6 separate regions of the Homo sapiens genome follow, and all the other regions are linked to region 1. The links are contacts of gene promoters, found by promoter capture Hi-C in blood cells and fetal thymus (Javierre and others, 2016). All regions are on one chromosome and are shown on one strand. The core of a region is centred on a gene start or on the middle of the fragment in contact, and the rest is flanking DNA. Distances in the headings are between cores, read along the strand shown. Region 1 holds the start of BTNL8 (butyrophilin like 8). Region 2 holds the start of OR2V1 (olfactory receptor family 2 subfamily V member 1). Region 3 has its middle 8.9 kb from the start of TRV-CAC1-3. Region 4 has its middle 15 kb from the start of TRV-CAC1-2. Region 5 overlaps BTNL9 (butyrophilin like 9). Region 6 has its middle 8.3 kb from the start of OR2Y1.

Evidence for each region. The method cuts DNA at HindIII sites, captures the fragments that hold promoters and counts their contacts. A CHiCAGO score of 5 or more calls a contact.
Region 2: a contact is called between the fragment with the promoter of OR2V1 here and the fragment with the promoter of BTNL8 in region 1, in 10 of 17 cell types (naive B cells, M2 macrophages, total B cells and 7 more). The highest score is 7.0, in naive B cells.
Region 3: a contact is called between a fragment that was not itself captured here and the fragment with the promoter of BTNL8 in region 1, in 4 of 17 cell types (total B cells, M1 macrophages, naive B cells and 1 more). The highest score is 6.0, in total B cells.
Region 4: a contact is called between a fragment that was not itself captured here and the fragment with the promoter of BTNL8 in region 1, in 4 of 17 cell types (naive B cells, total B cells, endothelial precursors and 1 more). The highest score is 6.4, in naive B cells.
Region 5: a contact is called between a fragment that was not itself captured here and the fragment with the promoter of BTNL8 in region 1, in 7 of 17 cell types (naive B cells, total B cells, erythroblasts and 4 more). The highest score is 10.2, in naive B cells.
Region 6: a fragment that was not itself captured here is called in contact with the fragment with the promoter of BTNL8 in region 1 in 2 of 17 cell types (naive B cells and erythroblasts); the score reaches 5.3 in naive B cells.

What each region holds. Positions count from the first base shown.
Region 1 is chr5:180,897,424-180,901,233 of GRCh38, forward strand. It overlaps BTNL8 (butyrophilin like 8), which reads left to right and starts at 1,736. Exons shown (of 8, transcript NM_001040462.3): 1 at 1,736-1,936. The coding sequence starts at 1,888. The HindIII fragment of the contact is 2,662 bases long and covers 1-2,507 here.
Region 2 is chr5:181,129,505-181,133,314 of GRCh38, forward strand. It overlaps OR2V1 (olfactory receptor family 2 subfamily V member 1), which reads right to left and starts at 1,665. Exons shown (of 4, transcript NM_001258283.2): 1 at 1,546-1,665; 2 at 669-711; 3 at 16-71. RefSeq lists an enhancer at 451-952. The HindIII fragment of the contact is 15,941 bases long and covers 1-3,810 here.
Region 3 is chr5:181,109,361-181,113,170 of GRCh38, forward strand. No RefSeq gene overlaps it. Among named protein-coding and RNA genes, the nearest start is that of TRV-CAC1-3, 8.9 kb to the left of the region's middle. The HindIII fragment of the contact is 7,483 bases long and covers 1-3,810 here.
Region 4 is chr5:181,080,202-181,084,011 of GRCh38, forward strand. No RefSeq gene overlaps it. Among named protein-coding and RNA genes, the nearest start is that of TRV-CAC1-2, 15 kb to the right of the region's middle. The HindIII fragment of the contact is 5,034 bases long and covers 1-3,810 here.
Region 5 is chr5:181,058,032-181,061,841 of GRCh38, forward strand. It overlaps BTNL9 (butyrophilin like 9), which reads left to right. Exons shown (of 11, transcript NM_152547.5): 10 at 321-347; 11 at 1,206-3,490. The coding sequence ends at 1,831. Among named protein-coding and RNA genes, the nearest start is that of MIR8089, 16 kb to the left of the region's middle. The HindIII fragment of the contact is 3,949 bases long and covers 1-3,672 here.
Region 6 is chr5:180,746,499-180,750,308 of GRCh38, forward strand. No RefSeq gene overlaps it. Among named protein-coding and RNA genes, the nearest start is that of OR2Y1, 8.3 kb to the left of the region's middle. The HindIII fragment of the contact is 254 bases long and covers 1,519-1,772 here.

The sequences.
Region 1 (3,810 bases), core at 486-2,985:
GGTGGGATGCAGGGCTGGTTTGTGTGCTGAGGGAATAAGACCAGTGTTCTGGCTTGGGCATAGCTTTTCTGGAGGTGGGGCACCAGGCCGCTTTATGTGCCAAGGGAGCACAGCTGCTCCACCATCTCAGACATTGCTTTCCTGGGGCTGAGTCTGGGGCCCCCAGTTAGTGTGCACACAAGGGGGTATTGTTGCCATTCTATTGCGCATGCTTCTCTGGGGTCAAGGTGCTTGGCTCATGCTTGAGAGGGTACAACTGCTTCACCAGGCCAGGCTTGGCTTCCTTGCTGGGTTGGACTGTTTGGTCCTTGGGGGCCAGAGCAGCCTGTAGGTTCAGAAGCCTGGGTCATGACCGTTCCACTGGGCCTAGGCCTAGGCTTCGAATGGCCATGGGTGGGGCATAGCTGCCACTGGAATGGAGAGGATACTGTGCCTTCTCAGCAGCTTCATAAAAAGGTATTTTGGTCTATATATCCTTGGTAAATCTGTATTTCTGAGACAGCATGAGATCAATAATTTTCTATTCTACTCTCTTGCTTACAACATTCAACAACTCATTTCCTTTTTTTTTTTATCACAGAGTAATATTCCATTGTATAGATGTACCATAGTTTGTGTATACATTCTATGTATCATTATTGAATGATATCTGGTTGCAAACATTTTTGGCAATTATGAATAAAGCTGCTATAAACATTCATGTGCAATTTTTCATGTGGACATATGTTTTCAAGTCATTTAGGTGAATAAAAAGCAGTGCAGTTGCTGGATTAGGTGATAAAAGTATGTTTAATTTTGCAGGAAATTGCTGAACTGTCTTCTAGAACAACCGTACCGTCTTGCATTCCTGTCAGCAATCAGTGAGAATTCCTGTTGCTCCGCATCCTCACCAGCATTTGGTGTTGTCAGTGTTCTAGATTTTAGACTAAATGCAGTGTTTTCATTTTGTCCTATTCTAGATGCTAACTTTTATTGTGATTTAGTCTCGTGAGTTGTTTTAAATTGTTACATAAGAATTTCTTAGTGTATAGAGTTTCCTATGTTTTTGAATTACTTTTTAATTTTAATTGCATTATGATTAGAGTATGTTTATTTTGATGGTTATCTGTGGAAATTTTCATTCTGATCTAGTTAAGTGGTGACTTTGTGAGTTTCCGTGTGCTTAAAAAGACTGCAAATCTCTCATTGTGGCTGCCCTGGAACTTAGTTTATATAATAAATAAGTTTCCTCATGTCTGAACCTGCCCAGGCACCTTTCCCAATGTATCAGATGTTTAACACTAAGGATCTGTTTTGTTCTGGAAAGTTATTTTTATCTGGCCTCATGATTACAGTCCTGGCCCTGAACTTCAGAGAATGGAGGGGTAAGCAAAAGGACCTCAGACTGTGCCAGGAAATGTCAAGTCACCTGCTGTAGGCTACTACTAATGGAGCATGGCCTATTTACTTGGACACCAAACTATCCAGTGCTAACATGAGGTTTTTCAGGACTAGATCCCATGGCCATACAGCCCTGCCTGCCAGATTGGACGTGAAAAGTATTTCCGCATCTGACATTCCTGTTTCACCCACACAGGGCATCGTTTTGCCCAGGACAAAGTTCACCTCCAATCTTATCCACACTATTTCTATCTTTGCTTCCTTGATAAGATATAGACATTTATGCAGTGGTTCAAAGTCTAGAGTCCCTACACTTCTGGTACATGACAGCTGTGTCTCGATGGAGTAGACTCTCAGAACAGCGCAGTTTGCCCTCCGCTCACGCAGAGCCTCTCCGTGGCTTCCGCACCTTGAGCATTAGGCCAGTTCTCCTCTTCTCTCTAATCCATCCGTCACCTCTCCTGTCATCCGTTTCCATGCCGTGAGGTCCATTCACAGAACACATCCATGGCTCTCATGCTCAGTTTGGTTCTGAGTCTCCTCAAGCTGGGATCAGGTAAGACTCATCTTTGTTTCCTCCTTACTAACTAACAGTTTGAGTTCTTTAGCTACAATGGTTGCAGCATAATGGAATGAAGGCATCTTTGTCGTTTCCATTCCTTTGGCTTCTCCTAGCCTCAGCCTGGGGAAGGATCAGGCGCTGTGGAAACAATTATAGTAGCCCCCAAATAATGGAAACACGGGTGTTGAAGACGCACCGTGATCGTTGACGGGGACACACCTAACGTGTTAAGGTGAATAAATTCAGTGTTTCTCCCAGATGGGCTGAGTGGTGTAGGCAGGGTTATTGGAGCACCAAGGTTGCTGACATGGATGTCCATCTGGGAAGAGACACAGTTAGGATTTTTGGGGAAAAGACAATGTATCCAGCTAAAGACATGCTGAGTTAGAAATGTCTGTGGTATGAGACACGAGGGTGGAGGAAGGTGTACAGGTCTTGAGGTGAGAAATTAGCTGAAACCTGGCATATTCTGGGAAGAAATCCACTCTTCTTTCTCCTTCCAGTTACTGTTAACACAGAACCTAGTATATAGGATGTTGAGTGACTGAATACAATTCACAGAGGAAGCTTGAGGTTGGGGTAGAATGCTGGTGGCTAGATGGTCAGTACCCAGCCACAGAAGATTCGATTGACTGTGTTCACTTTCTGTCTGTGAAGGTTCATCCTGCCACCTGTCCACCTATATCTTTTTTGCTAAATGAAGCTAAGAAAACAGAAATAAGGGCAATCAAAACATAGAGCATGTTTCCTTAAAACAAAAACCCATATGTGTTACTAACAGGAGACGCTCTCGTTTCAGTTTGTTTTCATTTATTTTCTGACGAGCTTCTTTGTTTCCCTTCTGTTTCCGGGTGAGGCAGCAGGACATCCTGGAAATGATCTTGGAGACAGAAACATTTTATTTTTAAAAACTCTTATTTCATTTTCTTGTGAGCTTTATTGTTCACAGCTTCCTTAGGTGTTGGTTTGCTTATGATGACATGGAGATACGATCACATTCCTGCTGGGGCTGTGGTGAGGACTGCATGAGCTTGTGCATGTAGAGTGCACACAGCTGCACGGGTGCATGGCATGTTGCAGCAACAGTCTTGTTCCTTTCTTATTTTCAAGGGAAGGAAGTGGAAGGAGTGAAAGGAGATGTTATAGGCAAGAGAGGTGACAGCAGCAAGGGCTGGCCGGAGAAATGGAGGTACCCTGAAAAATGTTTCCTTGCCTCAAGAGCCCCACACAGCCCTGAAGGCAGCATCCATAGCAGCCCAGCTGGCATACGCTGGGTCCCCAAACCTGACCTAAGACAAGGGCCTTCCTGCCAGTGATTCGTTGAGCAGGTGATTCTGGGAAACAAAGTGAGGGAGTGGAGAGAGTGAAGCCAGTAGGGGGAAAGCCATAGAGGGTGCGCTAATGAGCGTTGCTGCGGTGGCAACTGGGACCCAGTCCCACTGGGACCTTTGGAGGAACTTTATAGATGGTGGCTCAGAGTCATTCCAACATCTACTGTCTCCTTTCCCCACTGGGTGAGATGTGCCGCCCAGGACTGCTAAAATCGCAAACCTTCTGAGCTGCCTTGTGCCAGGGCTAAGTAGGTTCCAAGGGTGGCAGGAAGCCCTCAGCAGAGAGGCAGAGGCCAGGCTCCAGGGACGGAGCTGTCAGCAGGCAGGGAAATGCCCATCCCACTGCAGGGGGACTCAGGGTTGGGTGGTGAGGAGCAGGGCCTCAACATCTGCTACACCAGGTCAGAAGCTGGTCAGACACCAGGCTGCAAAGTCATGCCTCATTTAATAATACTCTTAAAGATGCATGAGTGAAATACATTTCAGCAAGATTTATAAAATGTAATTAAACTAAAAAATTAGTGCTAAAATGAAAAA
Region 2 (3,810 bases), core at 415-2,914, 230 kb after region 1:
GTCTCCCAGCCTTACCACCATGTTCAGAGGCACCAGCCACTTGTGCCTCTCAGGACACAGACGGCAAGATCCTGTCTCAGAAAAAAAAAATTGTATTATGAAACACAACAGAATTTATTCTTGCCTCTCACTGGCTTATCTTCCTGCTCTCTAATTTCAGACCTTTCCGTTGGGTGTTTAGTTAATGGCTTCACTTTTCTTCCTAGAAACCACAACATAGAAGAAGCCACTGCATCTCTGCAATATTCTCCCCGGCACGGGAGGACCCCGTCCCACATCAGCCCCCTCCTTCCTGCTCCTTCACCTTCGCACTCCCCACACATCTGTCCTTGTCTTCCTGCTGTGGACCATCCTCCACCCCAGGGACCTAGAGCCCAGTCTCCAACCCAGACAGAGGGAGGGGGACGGGAAAAGGGGAGTAGGACACCAAGGAAAGAGAGAGAGGTGGGTCAAAGGAAGAGAACGAGAAGAAAGAGTGAGGAGAAACATCACACCAGAAGACGGATGCCCCTCCAAACACCCACACGAAACAGTTACACCCTGATGGAGGCAGACAGCAGGAGGAAGAGCAAGTGCTGATGAACAAGATAAATGGGGACGTGAACCAGCAATGGGAGCAGGAGCTGCAGGGAAGAGAGAGGGGACGACAGGACAAGACCCTCACTCACCTGTGGGTGGGTCCCTGCAGGGGAACAAACTCAGCAGAGTCACCTGTGGAGGAGTTCCTAGCGTCAGAGCCATGCACTCATCCTCCTGTGTTTGCTCCCACTGGGTCGGGGGACAGGAGGAGCCGCAGCCCCAACCTCCTTCCTCAGCCCGCACCGACTACTCATCGGGTTGTGGAGCCCACGGCACCCTCAGCCTCCAGTGGCCCCTCAGGCTCAGAGAGCAAGGCTCACACAGACCACAGCCTCCTCTCAGAGGGAGAAACAGGCTCAGGGAAGGAGCTGGTGCTGGCAGGAGAGGTGGAGCCAGGAGCAGTGCCCTGAGCCCACCCAGGATTCCCACCTGCCTCCAGGACACCCTGGCTCTGGCCAGGTGGCAGAACCGCCTCCCACTGCCCACACAGGTACTGAACCCAGACACGGGGTGAAGAGGGGAAGCTGACTTCAGACCTCAGCTCCCAGGGGACCCCACAGACTCCAGCCCTGGAAGAGGTGCTCCCAAGATTACAATTAAAAAGACCCACAGAGGGACCTGGGGACAGGAACAGGAGCAGGGCCAGTGGGGACAGCGTGAGGAAACCCAGCTGGGGGAGGAGGAACGCAGGGCAGAGGAATACAGGAATGCGGAGGACATTCTTGGTGCCCTACATTGCCCCCCCACACACACATCAGCACTTCCCAGCGACCTCCAGGGCCCTCATGGGGTCTCCATGTCACAGCTGTCCCTTGGGCCCTCGCTGCACCCCACACCTGTCCTTCACCTGCCCCCATTAAGTCAGCCTACATCACCCGTGACATGCAAAGCACTGGGTGGGGGGCTCTGGACACAGTCCTTGCTCAAGGGGTCTACAGCCTCGTGGGAGGGAAAGAACAGCCCCACCTTCACGAGAGTCGGGTGGAGCCTGGGGGCCTGGTTGGGATCCTCATAAACCTGACAGGCGTTTCTGCAGGGTCAGTGTCTTCGTGGGCTGCTGGGGATGGGGCTGAAGTCCACGGTTCTGATGCTGCCACTGCCTTTTACTCTCAAGAGCATTTCACATCGGAGGATGCATTTTATGGTCACTCTGTGGCTATTTATGTCCCATGGAAGCAGGCCATTTTCTCAGGGGCCAATGTGCTTGAAATCCCCTTGCCACATGGCTCAGACACCAGAGGCGTTTGTTCCTTCTGAATCTCGACTTCCTTGTGTGTCTTTGCTACCACACTTTTGGTGTGTGCCCTCTTCCTGATCCAGCTTCCAGCTATGGCAGGAGTCTGAGGAACATGCAGGCGAGGAGGCCATGAGGGAGACACAGGAAGACCGGGGCAGAGAGAGGTAGACTAGGGAGGAAGGGAATGGCCACCTCGCAGCTGGAGTGGGGCAGGCTGGCTTTTGAGGACTGGACCTGCAGCGTCTCCCACTCCTCTCCCACACCGGCCTTCTCCTCTATCCTCCTATGCACCCAACGCTTTCCACACTCACACTTTTTCTCCAGCCACTTCTCCCCACCGGCACTTCCTCTGTCTTCTTCCTCTGTTACTCTTCAGCCTTATCTAATTCCCCAAGACCGAGCTCAAGCCCACCTCCATTCAGATTCCTCCGGAACTCAATCCACCATGACCTCCGCCGGCCATGGCTTCCTGTCTACACTCTGGCAGCGTATGTCCATGGCCTGCTGACAGCTCTTGTATTGCCTTTTATCGTATTATTCAGGGGGAACTTTTGATCATGTGCAAACAAGGAAACACTTTTATTTTTGTACAGCCACTGCTTTTAAATAAGACATCACAATTCATTCTCCACATCTTCATGACATCTCATGCAGATCAAGAGTTTTCTGGTGACTTTGGGTGGTAAGACGAAGGCTCATTTATATATTCTAAAATCCAGTCCATTGAAAATCAAAATTTGAATCTCACATTCAATTCAGTGTTGGTCCCCTTGACACAGCCTAAATCAAGACTAACTTGGGGCTTGGAGTCCCACAGTAGAGAAGGGAGAAGAGTCTGCTAACAGCAATCATATTATGTGTCCTTTCAGATTTTAAGGGAGGTGGGGATACTCTTTGAAATGTCCGTTTTTCTCAAATAAGTTACTAGGATGTCTGAACTGATTTATTTGGAGAACTGCCCTGCATAAATAGAAGCACTGTCTTTTACATGAGTATCTTAATTTAAAAATGTTTAATCTGGCACGGTGGTGCGTGTCTGTGGTCCCAGCTACTCTGGAGGCTGAGGTGGGAGGATCATTTAAGCCCATGAGGTCAGGGCTGCAGTGAGCTGAGATCACACCCCTGCACTTCAGCCTGGGCAACAGAGCCAGACCCTGTCTCAAAAAAAAAAATTATTGTCTAGGACATTCAAATTTTCAACCTCCCCTAATTTTTGTACTAAAATGAAAGCAGCAGCTGTCACATAAATGTCCAGGAAATGTCATTATTGATGTTTCTCTGTTAAGAATTCTTCTTAAATGCTCATCCTATTATTATGTTTTATTCTTGATATTTTAGAGAAACTTACTGATGTATTTACTGAGGAAACTATGTGATTTCTGAAACTTATTTGTAGATAATCCAGTTGTGAAGGGGAGAGGGAGAGGTGGGTGGGGAGTAGACGGAACGGTGTTGACCCTGAGCTGCCAATTGCCAGCACCGGGTGGTGAGTGCAGAGAAGTTCATTATACGATGCTTCCAGGTTTTAGGTGTGTCTAAAATGCTCTATAACAAGAACCTGGAAGGTCACTCCACACTGGTTGAGTAAACTGTAATGTATCCACATAACAGAGTGCCGTACGACTGTAAAAAGAACATCAAGTGTTTCTTCTTCTACACTGGAGGGATCTTCAGGAGGTAAGGAGGGAAAAAGCATGGTGCAGAACAGAACACAGCCTGCTGCTTCTGCCGTGAGAAAGGAGGAAATCTATGGACAAGGTTGTTTTTTACATTTTCAAAATCAACTATAAAAGGATAATTGCAAACTAATAAATACGGTTCCACATAGCAGGAGGGAAGAAATGTGTGTACGAGACAGAGACAGAAACTAGGTTTTTTTTTTCTTTTAAGAGACAGGGTCTTGCTCTGTGGCCCAGGCTGGAGTGCAGCAGTGCCAACATGGCTCACTGCAGCCTCCAACTCCTGAGGCAAGGGCACTCTCCTGAGCTCCAGAG
Region 3 (3,810 bases), core at 654-3,153, 210 kb after region 1:
GCAGCGGCTCGATCACAGGTCACTGCAGCCTCCTCCTCCTAGACTCAAGCGATCCTCCCACCTCAGCCCTCCGAGTAGCTGAGACTATAGGCACACACCACCAGGCCATGCTAATTTTTTTTCTGTGTTTTTTTTCCTGTTGTTGTTTTGTAAGTAAGGGGTTTTGTCACGTTGTGCAGGCTGGTCTTGAACTCCTGGGCTCAAGCGATTCACCTGCCTTGGCCCCTCAAAGTTGTGGGATTCAAGGGCCATCGTGCCCGGCCTTGAAGCAGAGCTTCATGTGCAGGAAGGTTTTGGGGGAGTGCTGTTGGGATCAGCATCTTCAAGGGAGGGAGGGAGGCGTGACTGGGCAGAGGGAGGAGCTGAGCGGCAAGACAGTTACCACTGAGGCCTCAGCCCACCCCAGGGCTGCTGGGAGGGGCCTGCAGGAACGTCCAGTGGAGGTGAGGCTGAGGTGGGAGGGCCTGGCCTTTGTGCCCCTGTTCCAATCAGTCTTTGGGTCCTGGCTGCTTCCAGGGAGGAGGCGTGGCCCTGGGTGAGGCATTTCCCTTCCCCCAGGGCAATGCCTACAGAGGGGTTCAGTGCAGGCTGTGCTCCCAATCGAGGGGTGCGTCTGGTCTGGGTGGAGGGATCTGCATGGGGCATCGCAGCATCCACCCCACTATGGTCACCAAAGACCCGTGCAAGAACCTTCCCAGCAGCACTGTTCTATTGCATAGACATCCAAACTGGAAACTTCCCCAGTGTCCATCAGTGGAGAATGGACAAACAAGGTGTGATGCTGACAATAGTAAACTTCCACCTGAGCCTTGAGCTCCTGGGAAACGGCGACTATTAAGAAATCCTCCACCCTCTCAAGCAGTTTGAAAATTTTTCGAGGAACTTAGAACTACCCTTTGACCCAGCAATCTCATTACTGGGTTTACATCCAAAAGAAATAATTGTTTCACCAAAAAGACACCTGGCGCTTGTATTTTCATCGCAGTGCTGTTCACAATAGCGAAGCCACGGTGCCCGTCCACGGTGGATTGCATAAAGAAAGTGTGGTACATAGACACCATGGGATATGACACAACCATCAAAAAGAACGAAATCATGTCCTTTGCAGCAACGTGGATGCAGTGGAAGCCGTCATTCTAAGTGAGTTAAGGAAGGAACAGAAAATCAAATACTGCATGTTCTCACCTGTAAGTGGGAGCTAAACACTGGGTAGTCATGGACGTAAAGATGGCAACAAGGGATGCTGGGGACTCCTAGCGGGGAGGGAGGAAGGGAGAGGGTAGGGTTGCAAAGCTATAGGGTGCTATGCTCAGCACCTGGGTGAGGGGATCGTTCATACCCCAAACCTCAGCACCACACAATATACCCAGGTAACAAACCTGCAGATATACCCCTTGAATCCGAAATAAAAGTTGAAATTATTAAAAAGAAAATAGAAGAAATGCCCCACCCTCCTGTAGGCCTTTCCCCTGCCACATGGATAAGGCAGGATGGTGAACCCCTGTTGACCAACGATGAGGCCAGATCCAGACCCTCCAAATTCCCGATCTTCAACTCATGAGTGACTAGCTGAACTGTTTGTCCGCACTGACCAATCTGGATAAAATGCCTGTTGACTTGTCCATACTTTAGTCAGGCTTCCTGGTTCCCCACAGGCTGTGACCTTGGCCCACCTTGAGCAGCATGGGAACCCCTCTAACAGCCCCTCCTCAGAATCTCAGTTTCAGGAGAACACTCCCCGGTGCACTGTCCCATCTGTCACTGCTCATCCCGCCCCACCTGCCGCGGTCTTTCTAGCCTTGCTGACGCCTCCCTGCAAATGTGAAGCCCTTTCTGTAGCCTGGGACAGGGGTTCTTGCTGTCAAAGGATGGACCTCCTACTGCAACAGCCCCCTCCCTACTGCAGGGGGCTCTCCTCAGGCTGGAGTGCAGTGTTGCCATCTCAGCTCACTACAGCCTTGACCTCCTAGGCTCAAACAATTCTCCTGCCTCAGCCTCCCCAGTAGCTGAGACCACAGCTGCTTGCCACCACACCTGGCTAATTTTTGTATTTTTCATAGAGACCGGGGTCTCCCCATGTTGCCCAGGTGGGTCTTGAACTCCTGGGCTCAAGTGATCCACTTGCCTCAGCCTCCCAAAGTGCTGGGATTACAGGCATGAGCCACACACCTGGCTGAGAGTGTGTTAAGATACTTAAAATCTCAGGCCAGGCGCGGTGGCTCACGCCTAAAATCCCAGCATTTTGGGAGGTCCAGGCCAGAGGATCCCTTGAGGCCAGGATTTCAAGACTCACCCGGGAAACAAGAGGAAAACCTAGTCTCCACAAAAAATAAAAGAAAAACTTAGCCACAGCGGCAGTGAGCTATGATTGTGACACTGCACTCCAGCCTGAGCCACAGAGGAGAACCTGTCTCAAAAAAATAAAACATAAATAAAAACGCCTATCTCTGGGCTCCCCCTCAGAGTCTGTTTGCTAGGTCTGGGCTGGGGTCCAGGAATTTCCATTTCTAACAAGTTCCCAGGAGATGCTGCTGCTGCGTGCAGAACCTCAGCCCCAGGGGAAGGTAGCTTTCTGTGACTTGCTGTTTACTACTTGTTAAAATTCACTGAGACATTGGATGATAAGGTGTAGCCCTGTGGGGTTGAGATCTAAATGATTCTTGTTGTGTATAAAAGATAGCCCAGCAGCTACAGGTTTATTGCCTTGGAATTTATTAACCTGTTTTGTATCAAACTTAGCATTTGTATCCATCCTTCTTCCTCCCTGAGTGCATAACCCCACTTCTCTAACTCCCCGTGACTCAGACTCGCCATCCTGACAATTCCCTCATCAATGAGCTATACGCCTTTGCGTGTGTTTGCTGTATAAGTACATGACATATTGATGAGATACACAGTATGTATATGTGTTGTTAATGTTTCAAAGATTATGCTTTCATGGCAGAAACATCTATATATATGCTCCAAGACATGTATGGTTGTTCCTTACATCACCATAGTATAGGAAACCTGGAAGGAAACAATTCAAATGTGATCACTAGGGGTGTGGGTACACAGCACATGGTCTATCCACGTTATACACTCAAAAATAGTGAAGTGTGGGCCTCTAGGCATGGCAGAGGGCAGAAGCTGGCAAATCTGTTCCCACACCCAAAAGTATAAAATGGGACAAAATTGTCAAGAGCGATCATTTCAGAGCTCTCAAAATTGACCAAAGGCAAATCATCAAATGGAGAAACATATACTCATAATAAAAAGCTGCCAGAACTTCTAGTTAGAACAGCAGGACTTTGCAGCCTTCTTGCCTGGAGCTGCTGTCATTCTGGCACCCTGCCCTGATATCCTAGGCTGGGCCGGCCTTGAAAACCAGTAGTCTCACCCGCAAAGGGGGCTGATTTAATTTGGAACTGGGAAAAAAACTCAGACCTGCTGATGAGACGGGATTGTTCCCTTGATTTTGACCCCCTTCATGGGTGGGTACTGGAGAGGCTCGTTTCACTCAGCCTGCTGGGTGGCGGGTCGGGGGGTGGGGAACACTGCGTCTATGAAAACATTTTAAAAATTGCCATGTATGGTGGCTCCCACTTGTGGTCCCAGCTACTTGGGAGGCTGAGGTGGGAGGAACATTGAGCCCAGGAGTTTAAGGTTGCGGTGAGCTGTGAGTCCACCACTGAATTCCAGCCTGGGCAACAGAGTGAAGCCTTCTCTCAAAAAAAAAAAAAAAAAAAAAAAAAAAAATTGCATCGTGTGAATATACTGATATGGGAGGTAGAAAGAAATTATTTAGGCAGATAGTGAGGGCAAAAGAGT
Region 4 (3,810 bases), core at 563-3,062, 180 kb after region 1:
AAAAACAAACAAACAAAAAACTATGTAATTCATGCCATCACCAGGCTAAGCAAGAAAAATCATATGATCACATAAATAGATGCAGAAAAGCATTTGACAAAATTCAACACCTAGTTATGATACAAACTCTCAGTAAACTAGGATAGAGGGGAATTCCTCAAATTGATAAAGAACATCTATAGGCAGAGCATGCTGGTTCATGCCTAAAATCCCAGCACTTTGGGAGGCCAAGGCAGAAGGATTGCTTGAGGCCAGGAGTTTGAGATCAGCCTGGGCAACATAGAGAGATTCCATCTCTAAAAAGAAAGACACACACACACACACACACACACACACACACAGAAACATCCACAGAAAAAAAACTAGCTAACATCATACTTAATGGTTAGTGAGAAACTAGGTGTTCTCTCCTTAAGATCAGGAGCAAGGATGTCCCCTACTATCATTCTTATTCAACATTGTACTGAAGTCCTAACTAATGCAAGAAGATTTTAAAAAGGAAATTAAAGCTATACAGATCAGGGGGAAAAAAGAAACTGTCTTTCTTCACAGATGACATGATTGTCTATGTAGAAAATACCAAAGTATTGACCAAAAACTCCTGAACTAGCAGATGATTATAGCAAGATTTTTTCTTTTCTTTTCTTTCTTTTTTTTTTTTTTTTTTGAGATGGAGTCTCACTCTATTGCCCAGGCTGGAGTGCAGTGGCTTGATCTTGGCTCACTGCAACCTCTGCCTCCTGGGTTCAAGCGATTCTCCTGCCTCAGCCTCCAGAGTAGCTGGGATTACAGGCACGATCCACCACGCCCAGCTAATTTTTGTCATTTTAGCAGGGACCAGGTTTTACCATGTTGGCAAGGCTGGTCGTGAATTCCTGACTTCAGGTGATCTGCCTGCCTCGGCCTCCCAAAGTGCTGGGATTACAGGCATCAGCCACTGCACCAGCCAGATTACAGCAAGATTACTATGTAGTGAATTATCATAATTTTATGTTGCCTCAGCACCCATTTTTCAGGGAAGTTTAACTTTCCTATGCCGGAAGGAGAGCTCAGTCACCCTTGACACAGTTTTCAGGTTCTACATCTCCTCCCAGTTCCTCAAGGTGGTCAGTCCAGATATCTGCTGTGCACAGCTGCCTCCCGGTGCCCACCTCCGCATGGCACAGCTACATACAGCCCACTCGACTAGCCCTGCATACTCTATGTAGTGGGATGGATGGCTGCACGTGAGATTTCAAGTCATAGTGGGTACCTTCGGACTGCTTGTTTAATTATGCTCATCAGATGCCTGACTCAGGTTTCTCCAGTAGCCTTTAGTGTCTCTGCTACTCAAATGGCACCCATGATAAGGCACAAGGTCTAATGCCTAGACATTACAGGGTCAATTTCAATGGTATTGACACAGCAGAGGTTTCTGCCTACGTATTAGAAGAACACCACACCCTAATGGCCCAAGCCAGTGGCCAAGGATAAAAACCTTGGAGGAACCTCTTCTGCCTAGTTGACTGGGCTCCCCACTTTCCCACCGCTTCCTTTAAATGGACCATTCAGGTATTTGCCCTTGAACTTAAAGCCACCCACAGTGTATTCTCCAACATACACTTCTAATTTCTGCATTCTTTCTCCCTGCCTGTACTCCCTAAACTAACCTCTCTGTGTGGGGGGCCTCCAAGCATGTCATATACTACCAGAACCTATAAGTAATAAAATCTTTATTTCTATTTTGTGTCTCTCCTAATCATTGAAGGGTTGCTCTCCATTTTAAAGATCATAAGTTTTAAAATACAGGACACAAAGTTAATAAACAAAAGTCAATTGCTTTACTATATGCCAGCAATAAACAATTGGGATTTAAAAATTAAAAATACAATAACACTAACATTAGCACTTAAAAAGTACTTAATAATAAATCAAAAAAATGGGTACAAGGTCCATATAAGGAAATCTAATGAAATCAAAAAAAGTTCTAAGTAAATGGAAAGATATTCCATGTTCATGGATAGGAAAGCTCAATCTTTTAAAGATGCCAATCCTTCCTAATTTCATCTACAGATTCAATGTAATCCAATCAAAATCCCAGCAGGTTATTTTATAAATACTGACAAACTGATTCTAAACATTATATGAAAAGGCAAAAGACCCAGGAGAGCCAACACAGTATTGAAGAAGAAATAAGTTGGAAGACTAATACTACCTAAAGGCTTACTATAAAGCTACAATAATCAAGAAAGTATAGTGTTGGCAAAGGAATAGACAGCTAGATCAATGAAGAAGAATAGAGAACAAACAGATCCACACAAATATACTTAACTGATATTTTGACAGGAATTAAAAGCAATTCAACAGATAATGTATGGTCTTTTCAAGAAATGATGCTGGAATATTTAGGCATGCATGTGCCAAAAAAAAAAAAAAAGGAAAAAAACATGAATCCAGACACTGATCTTACACCTCTCACAGAAATGAACTCAAAATGGATTATAGACCTAAATTTAACATGCAAAACTACAAAACTTTTACAAGAGAACCCGGGGAAAATCTGGGGAAGTTTTTCAAAGCATGATCCATGATCTATGAAGAAAAACGGGTATGTTGGACTTCACTGAACTTAAAAACTTCTGCTCTGCAAAGACATTGTTAGGGAAATGGAATGACAAGGCACAGACCGGGAGAGAATATTTGCTGAATACATATCTAACGAGGCACTTGTATTAACCAGCAATACCAGCACTTAGGGAGGCTGAGTTGGAAGGTTCACTTGAGCCCAGGAGTTCCAGATCAGCCTGAGAAACATAGGGAGAAAATTTTTTTTTTTAAATGTGCTGTGTGTGGTGACACTTGCCTATAGTCCTAGCTACTCAGGAGGCTGAGGCAGGAGGAACACTTGAGCCCGGGAGTTGCAAGCTGCAGCAAGCCATGATCATGCCACTGTACTTTAAGCTGGGTGAAAGAGCAAGATTCTGTCTCATAAAATAAAACAAAACAAAACAAAAAAAACTGAACAATAAGAAAACAATTCAATTAAAAAATATGCAGGCTGGTGTGGTGGCTCACACCTGTAATCCCAGCACTTTGGGAGGCTGAGGCGGGAGGATTGCTTGAAGCCAGGAGTTTGAGACTGGCCTGCACAACACAGCGAGACCCCAGGTCTACAAAAAAATAAAAAATTAGCTGGGCATGGTGGCATATGCTTGTGGTCCCAGATACTCAGGAGGCTGAGTAGGGAGGATCGCTTGAGCCCAGGAATTGGAGGCTACAGTGAGCTATGATTACACCACTGCTCTCCAGCCTAGGCAACAGAGCAAGACTCTGTCTCAAAGAATAAAAATAATGATCAAAAGATCTGAAGAGACGTCTCACCAAAGAAAATGTACAGATGGCAAATGAACATATGAAAAGATGCTTGATATCATTCATTATTAGAGAATTGCAAATTAAAACAATGAGATTTCACTACATGTAAAAATGGCTAAAATCTAAAACAATGACAAACACCAAATGCTGACATGCACGGGGCAAGCGATAGTCACCTGAAGACAGTCTGACAGCTTTTTACACAGCTAAACATAACCTTGCCATATGAGCCAGCAATTATGCTCCTAGGTAGTTACTCAAATGAGTTGAAACATTTGCCCATATAAGCATCTGAACATGAATGTTTATAGTAGCTTTATTCATAATTGCCAAAAACTGGAGGTAACCAAGATACACTTCAAAAGGTGAATCAACACATTGTGCTCTGTCCTCATAATGGAATATTATTCAGCAATAAAATTAATGATCTCTCAAGCTATGAAAAGACACGGAGGA
Region 5 (3,810 bases), core at 448-2,947, 160 kb after region 1:
GCTCCACTTCTGTCTCTCAGGGCATCCAGGCTGCTTATAGAGTCTCTTTACCTACATGCTCCACTCTCCTGCTTTTTCCAGCAGAATTTCAGCCTGCACGTAGCTCTGGTATCAATGACACAGGCCTCTACTCAATCTAAAATTTCTCAGGAAAATACATGGTGAACCCCAAGACCAGTCTGGATTCAAACCAGTTGTCACAGTGGGAATGGGGTCATTCGATCTGCATGCATCCCTCATACATCTGGAGACTTCGTTAAGGTTCCAGAGTTACTGACTGAGATTTCTGAGCTTTTTTCCCCTTTTCTGTTTGGTTTCAGAGTGGAGAGCAGCCCAAAAATATGCAGGTAACTGAAGCCAGGAAACTGATTTGTGTTTTGGTTTGGCCGGATCTTAAACAGAAGGGAGGTGGAGAGATCTGAGATTAGAGGACGGGGCTTTATAGGAGCCAAGTATGGGGCCTGCACACACAAGACACACACGCACACTTGCAAACACGCCACACGACACATATGCCTGCATGTGTATGCACACACATGCACACGTGAGCTCCCAAACACATCGCTCCTTGGGGTTACACTAGGTTTGTTTCCATCTGGCTTGAGGCTATTTGCAGGCGAGAGTGCAGAGTCTGTAATGAACCTCCCAGATTCTCTGACGAAGGGGTCCCCTAGGTTCCCATCTGTCAGATGGCATGGGGTGTTGAAATGTGGGGCACTGGACTAGATGATCTCAAAGGTCCTTTTAAAATCCTTTTAAAAACTTTTCTGAAGGACTGTATGTAAAAAAAAAAAAAAAAAATCCAAAATTTCTGTAAAATGACGCTCAGCGCTCTCCTGATTATGCCAAGGTCACGCAGGGTGGTGCCACCAGCAGGAACTAGAACCAGCCCATAGGTCCTTCCCCTTGACCGGGACGTGGCTCCCTCCCCGCCAGCCTACTTCCTTTGCTATCTCTGGTATGGAATTCAGGGACCTTCCAGTTCAGGAAAGGACAGGATTCCTTGTCACTATCAAACACTCAGGAGTGACTGACACATGCCACTTCAGTCCTGGGGAGGGGGTTTGCAGGGGTGAGGGTCGGGGTAAGGGGTTCATTTCCTCGATTATTCCACCAAGAGAAACGAGAGGTTTGTCCGCCTTGGGGAAGACACGGACGGGGCCCAGACCGTCCCGGGCGGGCACTAACGCTGTGGCTCTGCGCAGTGGATGTGACGCTGGACCCGGCCTCGGCGCACCCCAGCCTGGAGGTGTCGGAGGATGGCAAGAGCGTGTCTTCCCGCGGGGCGCCGCCAGGCCCGGCGCCTGGCCACCCGCAGCGGTTCTCGGAGCAGACGTGCGCGCTGAGCCTGGAGCGGTTCTCCGCCGGCCGCCACTACTGGGAGGTGCACGTGGGCCGCCGCAGCCGCTGGTTCCTGGGCGCCTGCCTGGCCGCGGTGCCGCGCGCGGGGCCTGCGCGCCTGAGCCCTGCGGCCGGCTACTGGGTGCTGGGGCTGTGGAACGGCTGCGAGTACTTCGTCCTGGCCCCGCACCGCGTCGCGCTCACCCTGCGCGTGCCCCCGCGGCGCCTGGGCGTCTTCCTGGACTACGAGGCCGGAGAGCTGTCCTTCTTCAACGTGTCCGACGGCTCCCACATCTTCACCTTCCACGACACCTTCTCGGGCGCGCTCTGTGCGTACTTCAGGCCCAGGGCCCACGACGGCGGCGAACATCCGGATCCCCTGACCATCTGCCCGCTGCCGGTTAGAGGGACGGGCGTCCCCGAAGAGAACGACAGTGACACCTGGCTACAGCCCTATGAGCCCGCGGACCCCGCCCTGGACTGGTGGTGAGGCGCCCTCGTGGCCGCGGGACTGGCCCCGGGGGGCCCCCTGGATCCCAGGCCAGCGCTTTGCTCTCCTGCTCCGTCTGAAGGGAGCAGGTGCACCAGCCAAAATGTCAGCGAGGGGGACAAAGAGAGGGACCTTTGCCTACGTAGATGTGTATGTGTAGTGCGATTTTCTTCAAGGAAAGGAGACAAGTCCAAAGCTCGTTTGTGGATTGTGGGACTGAGCGAAGGAGTACAAATATATCCACGTCGCTCAGAGCTGGGGTGCTCACGGTGGGCGGTGGGCAAGAAGCCAGCATGGAAGAAAGAAGGGAGAAAACTTTGGTGACTGCCTTAGAGGGATCAGTTAATTTGTATAGTTTTATATTTTTTGTATATGTTTGCTAGCTCTAAAAAGGTCGAGATGCAATAACACTTCGTAAGCAACGAGTTCACCTAAGTAAGGCTCAGATCCTAGTTTTAAAAACCATTTCCCATTAAAATGAAGTTGGAGGAACAGCTGCTTCTGGAGCCGGGGCAAAAATTTCAAGGTGAGCCTGGAGCATTGTGTGTGGTGAAGTAAAATAAAGGCTCAAAACGTGACGGCAACCCGGCAAAAGGGTAGGGAGCCAGGCCGAAGGGGCCTCACTGACCAATTGTGGGACAATTTGAACATCAGGATGAATAATGACAGGAGAGATTATAACACACTGAATAAAAACATAATCCATGAGTTCATGCTGATACTCAAATTTCTTTTTAAAAAGGAGAAACAGGAAGGTTTCTTTTGGAGGTGAAATCTAATTATTGGTGAGAGTCTTGGAGAACAGGCTGTTTCCAGTCTCAAAGCAGTAACCTTATACACTACTTATAAGTTTGAAAGGGGAAAGGTTACCTTTACAATGGAGACATCTACCAGATCATCCAAGTGATTAAATTTAACATCATCAATGATGGGACCAAGGACATTATTAGTTTGACAACTGGGGAAAGAAGTGTTCTTCACCCCCTACCCCCAAGACATTGTCTCTGTCGGCCAGGCTGGAGTGCAGCCTCAACCTCCTGGGTCCAAGTGATCCTCCCACCTCAGCACACAACACCATGCCCAATTTTAAGTGCGTTATAGAGACGGGGGTCTCACTTTGTTACCCAGGCTGGTCTCAAACTCCTGCGCTCAAGCAATCCTCCCACCTGGGCCTCCCAAAATGCTGGGTGTACAGGCATGAGCCGCTGTGCCTGGCTTCATTTTCAGAGTGAGACATTTGTACTGTGGCTATGTAGGAGAACATTCTTGTTCTTAGCAAACATACTGAAGTTTTTAGATATTAATTACCACAGTGTCTGCCACTGAATTTCCAGTGACTAAGTGGAAAAATATAAAACATATGAATATAAAGAAAGAAAGAGACAAGTCAAATGTAGTAAAATGACAACACTTGGTGACTCTAGGTGACTGGTCGACAGATGTTCATTGTACTATCAATGTGGCTTTGCTGTGGGTTTGAAATTTTGCAAACTAAGAGTTGGGTGGCGGGGAGAAGGATACACCAAAAAACTAAGTGATTATCTTTGGATGGGAAAATGTTTGGTAATTGCATTCTTAAAATGTCTTCTTTGTATTTTTTAATGTTCAATAATGTATATGTATCAGTTCTGTAATAAAGGGGAAAACACTTTTTTTAAATACTCATATTCAAAATCATTCATTTGAAAGGAGCTATAATGAAACTGCTGGACGATCTCCTAGGCCATTGTTTCAGAGTAAGTAAATATGGCTCTCATCCCCTTCCCCTTAATCCAGGCAGAGCTTTCCTTGCCCGTCTTGTTTGAAAGGGGGAATGAGGAAGGGAGACTGGTCCGCAGCCAAGCTTTCTAACTGGTCTTTCCTCCTTCTTCCCTCTTTCCCTCTCCTTTTCTTTTCCTCTTCATGGGGACTGAGATTTCTACTAGGGCCTTTAGCACCAGGATGGGAACGGATGGGGCAGGGACACCTCTGGGATGAGC
Region 6 (3,810 bases), core at 396-2,895, 150 kb before region 1:
GAAATAGGTGTTTTATATTTTATTTTAATTGGCACGTAATAATTGTACATATATATGAGGTACAGAGACATATTTAGATGTATACAATACATAATGCTCAATTCAGGGTAATTGTGAATAGCATATTTATCAAATTAGGCATTTTAATTGAGTTTTTAGATCAGAAAATAGAAGTCTCCAAGGCAAGCCTGATGGCTTGTACGCAGGTTGAAAGATCTCATGTGGAGAATGTCGTGAACTTGCATTGCTCTTCTACAAAGGTCAAAACTAGGACCAACAGGCGAAACTTACAAGAGAACAGATTGTGGCTCAATATTAAAAAAAAAAAAAGTGAATAAAATGAAGCAGTCTAAAACTAGGCTGCCTGGAAATGTGATATTCCCATCACTCGAAAGCTTCCTGCTCATTCAGAGGGTGAAAGTTGACTTTTCAGGATGATGTGAAAATGTTCCTGCATTAACTGAAACATTTGTTAGGTGGTTTTGAGCACTGCATCCAACCCTGATAGTTTTCTAATCTTAACTTATCTTTTTAAAATTTAACCCCTATTCTTATCCCTTTGGCACACATAAAGCATTCCTGCATTTCATGTGCATATTTGATATTGTTAAATTTCTGCATTACAAAGACCAATGGTTGTGCTCATCTCTCTGGGTTTTGTTTTTTTGCATTTTTTTTTGAGACGGGGGTCTCACTCCATCATCCAGGCTGGACTGCAGTGGCACTAGTGATCCTCCCCACCAAGCCTCCTGAGTAAGCTGGGTCTACAGGCATACACCACCAGGCCTGGGTAATTTTTTGTATTTTTTGTAGAGACTGGGTCTCCCTATGTTGCCCAAACTGGTCTTGAACTCCTGGGGTCAAGCAATCCTGCTGCCTCAGCCTCCCAAAGCAATGGGATTATAGGCATGAACCACTATGCCTGGTCCGTGCTCATCTCTGCGTGTCTGTGTCTGTGTGTACATCTGTGTGTCTATGCATGACCTCTAAAAATAACACACTTATTGAAATCAGAAATCATGTTTAAATTATTTTCAACAGCACGTAGTACTATATTCTTCATATTCTTCATGCCAGTCTACTAATTTAATGATATTTTCTGACTGTAATAGAGCCACATTCAAGCCAGAAAATTTCATCCTCTGTCTGAGTGAAGGAGGAGGTTCTACAAACTCCTTCCGAAACACCTTCATTGGTAGAACATTCATCCTTAAATTTGAATCTTATTTCACCCTTTTATTACACCTGCATGAGTAGCTCTCTTATTAGTTTTTGGAAGATTAAACCCACTATCAAAACTTACTAGGCACCAAAACATCCTTCCTTCCACTCATCCTCCATCACATCCTCCTCTTCTGCAGACACACCTGACCCTGTTCCTCTCACCTGAGGAATCACACAATATCTCATCATACCCCATGAGACTTTAGGGTGATCTTTAAGACGCTTCTATAAAATACTTAATAATAACCCACATTTCGCAGTATAAGACCAGAAAACTCCGGTTTGAGTTCAGTAAGCTTAATTAACAAAGACTGAATTAACAAGTAGCTTGTTTTAACTCTGATTCCCACACAGAACATTGTCTCCAAATAGGATAGATTCCCTTCTGTCATCTAGTTCTTCAAGAAGTCTTCCGGGATTTATCTTCAACAGCTCTGACCATTGCTCTATTCTTTGTCTCTTGGCACTGAGGCCTATAATTTACTTTGCATACTAGAGCCCTGGCATCATGGAATTTGAGATTTAGAAGAAACTTCAAAATGATTTTAAGCTTCACACTTTACATAAATAAACTTATTTCCCTAAGTTTATGCAGTTGGAGAGAAAAAAAAGAAATTGTTTGACATGCTGTATTCAGTTGAGTGAATGGATGGGTGAGTAAGTGGCAGAGAAAGACTCTATCAGTGATAAAATATGTTCTTGCATGAATTTAATAGCTCTATGTACTCAAACTGGGGATGCTACACAAAGGAATCCCCCACTAATTGCCCAATGAAATATTTCTATGCATGACTTCTAAAAATAACACACTTATTGAAATCAGAAATCATGTTTAAATTATTTTCAACAGCATGTAGTACTATATTCTTCATATTCTTCATGCCAGTCTACTAATTTAATGATATTGTCTGACTATAATAGAGCCACATTCAAGCCAGAAAATTTCATCCTCTGTCTGAGTGAAGGAGGAGGTTCTGGATTTTTAACTATGAAGTCAGAGTGGCCCATCCAGTCAGTACTTACCCAGGGCTCCTGTCCTGGAGAAGCGATGGTTACATAGGCTCCCTCCCTGGGCAGGGCAAAACTGCCCAAGGCCCATTGCCCGCCAGGCAGGAGCCTCCTCCCCCAGGCACCTTCGCTCACTCACCCTAACCAACTCAGCCGTGGAGGAACTGGTGTCTTACCAAACCACCTCCTGACCCTTAGGCTCAGCAGCAATCCTGCCTCAGGAGCATTGCCAAGGCCTCCTTAAGAGGAGTCAGGGGAAAATTGTTTACCAAGTATGACCTTGGAGACCTCCGGGCCCCAATGTGGCAATCAAAATCAACTGACTGAAAAACCAAGATTTGCCTTGAGTCCTCAATTCTCTCTATTCCCCATGCTCTGCCTAAATCAAATGAATCTATTCAGTGTCCTCAGAACCCAACTCTTCCCTTGGTGCATATGACTCTGCATCCTGGGATTCTGCACACTTCTGCTTTCACCCAAATCCTACCAGTCCTTCACCACTCAGACTAAATGACTCATCTCTCTTGGAGCTTACCATATTCACCACCTCAAATCTCTCCCTTCCCTGAGCTCCTCATATAATGCCCATATATCCCCATTATGTGTCTCATTGACTCAATTCAGTATTAATTTCCTTGAAGACAAGTTTGATGCTTTACATTGCTTTCAAACATAGTATACTTCATGTATTAACATTTATTTCTTTATACTCTGTTTTTTATTCACAATAAATTTAAAAGGAAAATGCATTTATTTATCAATTCATTCAAAAATTATCTACTGAGCAATGAGTGCTGTTCTACATACCACAGGAAATAAAACAAGAAACATTTAAGATGATTTGTATCCACTTAAGGGGTCATAATATAATATAGAAGAAATAGCTGTGCCATTACTAGCTTTGTGACCTTGAAGAGCTTTCTTGATATGCTTGCACCTTAGTTTCCCTTCAGTAAGATGATATTATTATGGCTTATCCTGTGGTTCTCTTTTGCAGATTAATGACACAGTGTATATAAAGTGCTTGGCATATGGTAGACATTCACTCAATGCTAGTTAGTGTTACTGGAACACAAACATAGGTGCATATGTGTGGTTATACAAGCATAAAGAAAAGGATGGAAAGGTTCACCTCAAACTGATTATGGTAATGCTGCTTATTGGTTGAGGGGTGTTGAATATGGGAAGGAGGTGGGAAGACTGATAACTTTTTCTTCATACAACAACAGGGTTTCATTTGTTGTAATTAGCATATATTTATTTTAAGAGATTTATTGAGGTATAATTCACATATCATACAATTCACACACTTAATATGTACAACTCAATAGCTTTTAATATATTCATAGATTTGTGCATCCATTATTTTAGAATATTTCCATTACCCCCCAAAATAATTCATGCCAGTTTGCAATCACTCCTCATTCTCACCCTCAACTCCAGGCAAGCAGAAATATATTTTTTGTCTTGATAGACTTGCCTTTCTAGACATTTCATATACGGACTCTTACAACATGTGGTCTTTTGTGTCCAGCTGGTTTCCCTTAATAATGAAGCTTCATCAATGTAGTAGCATGG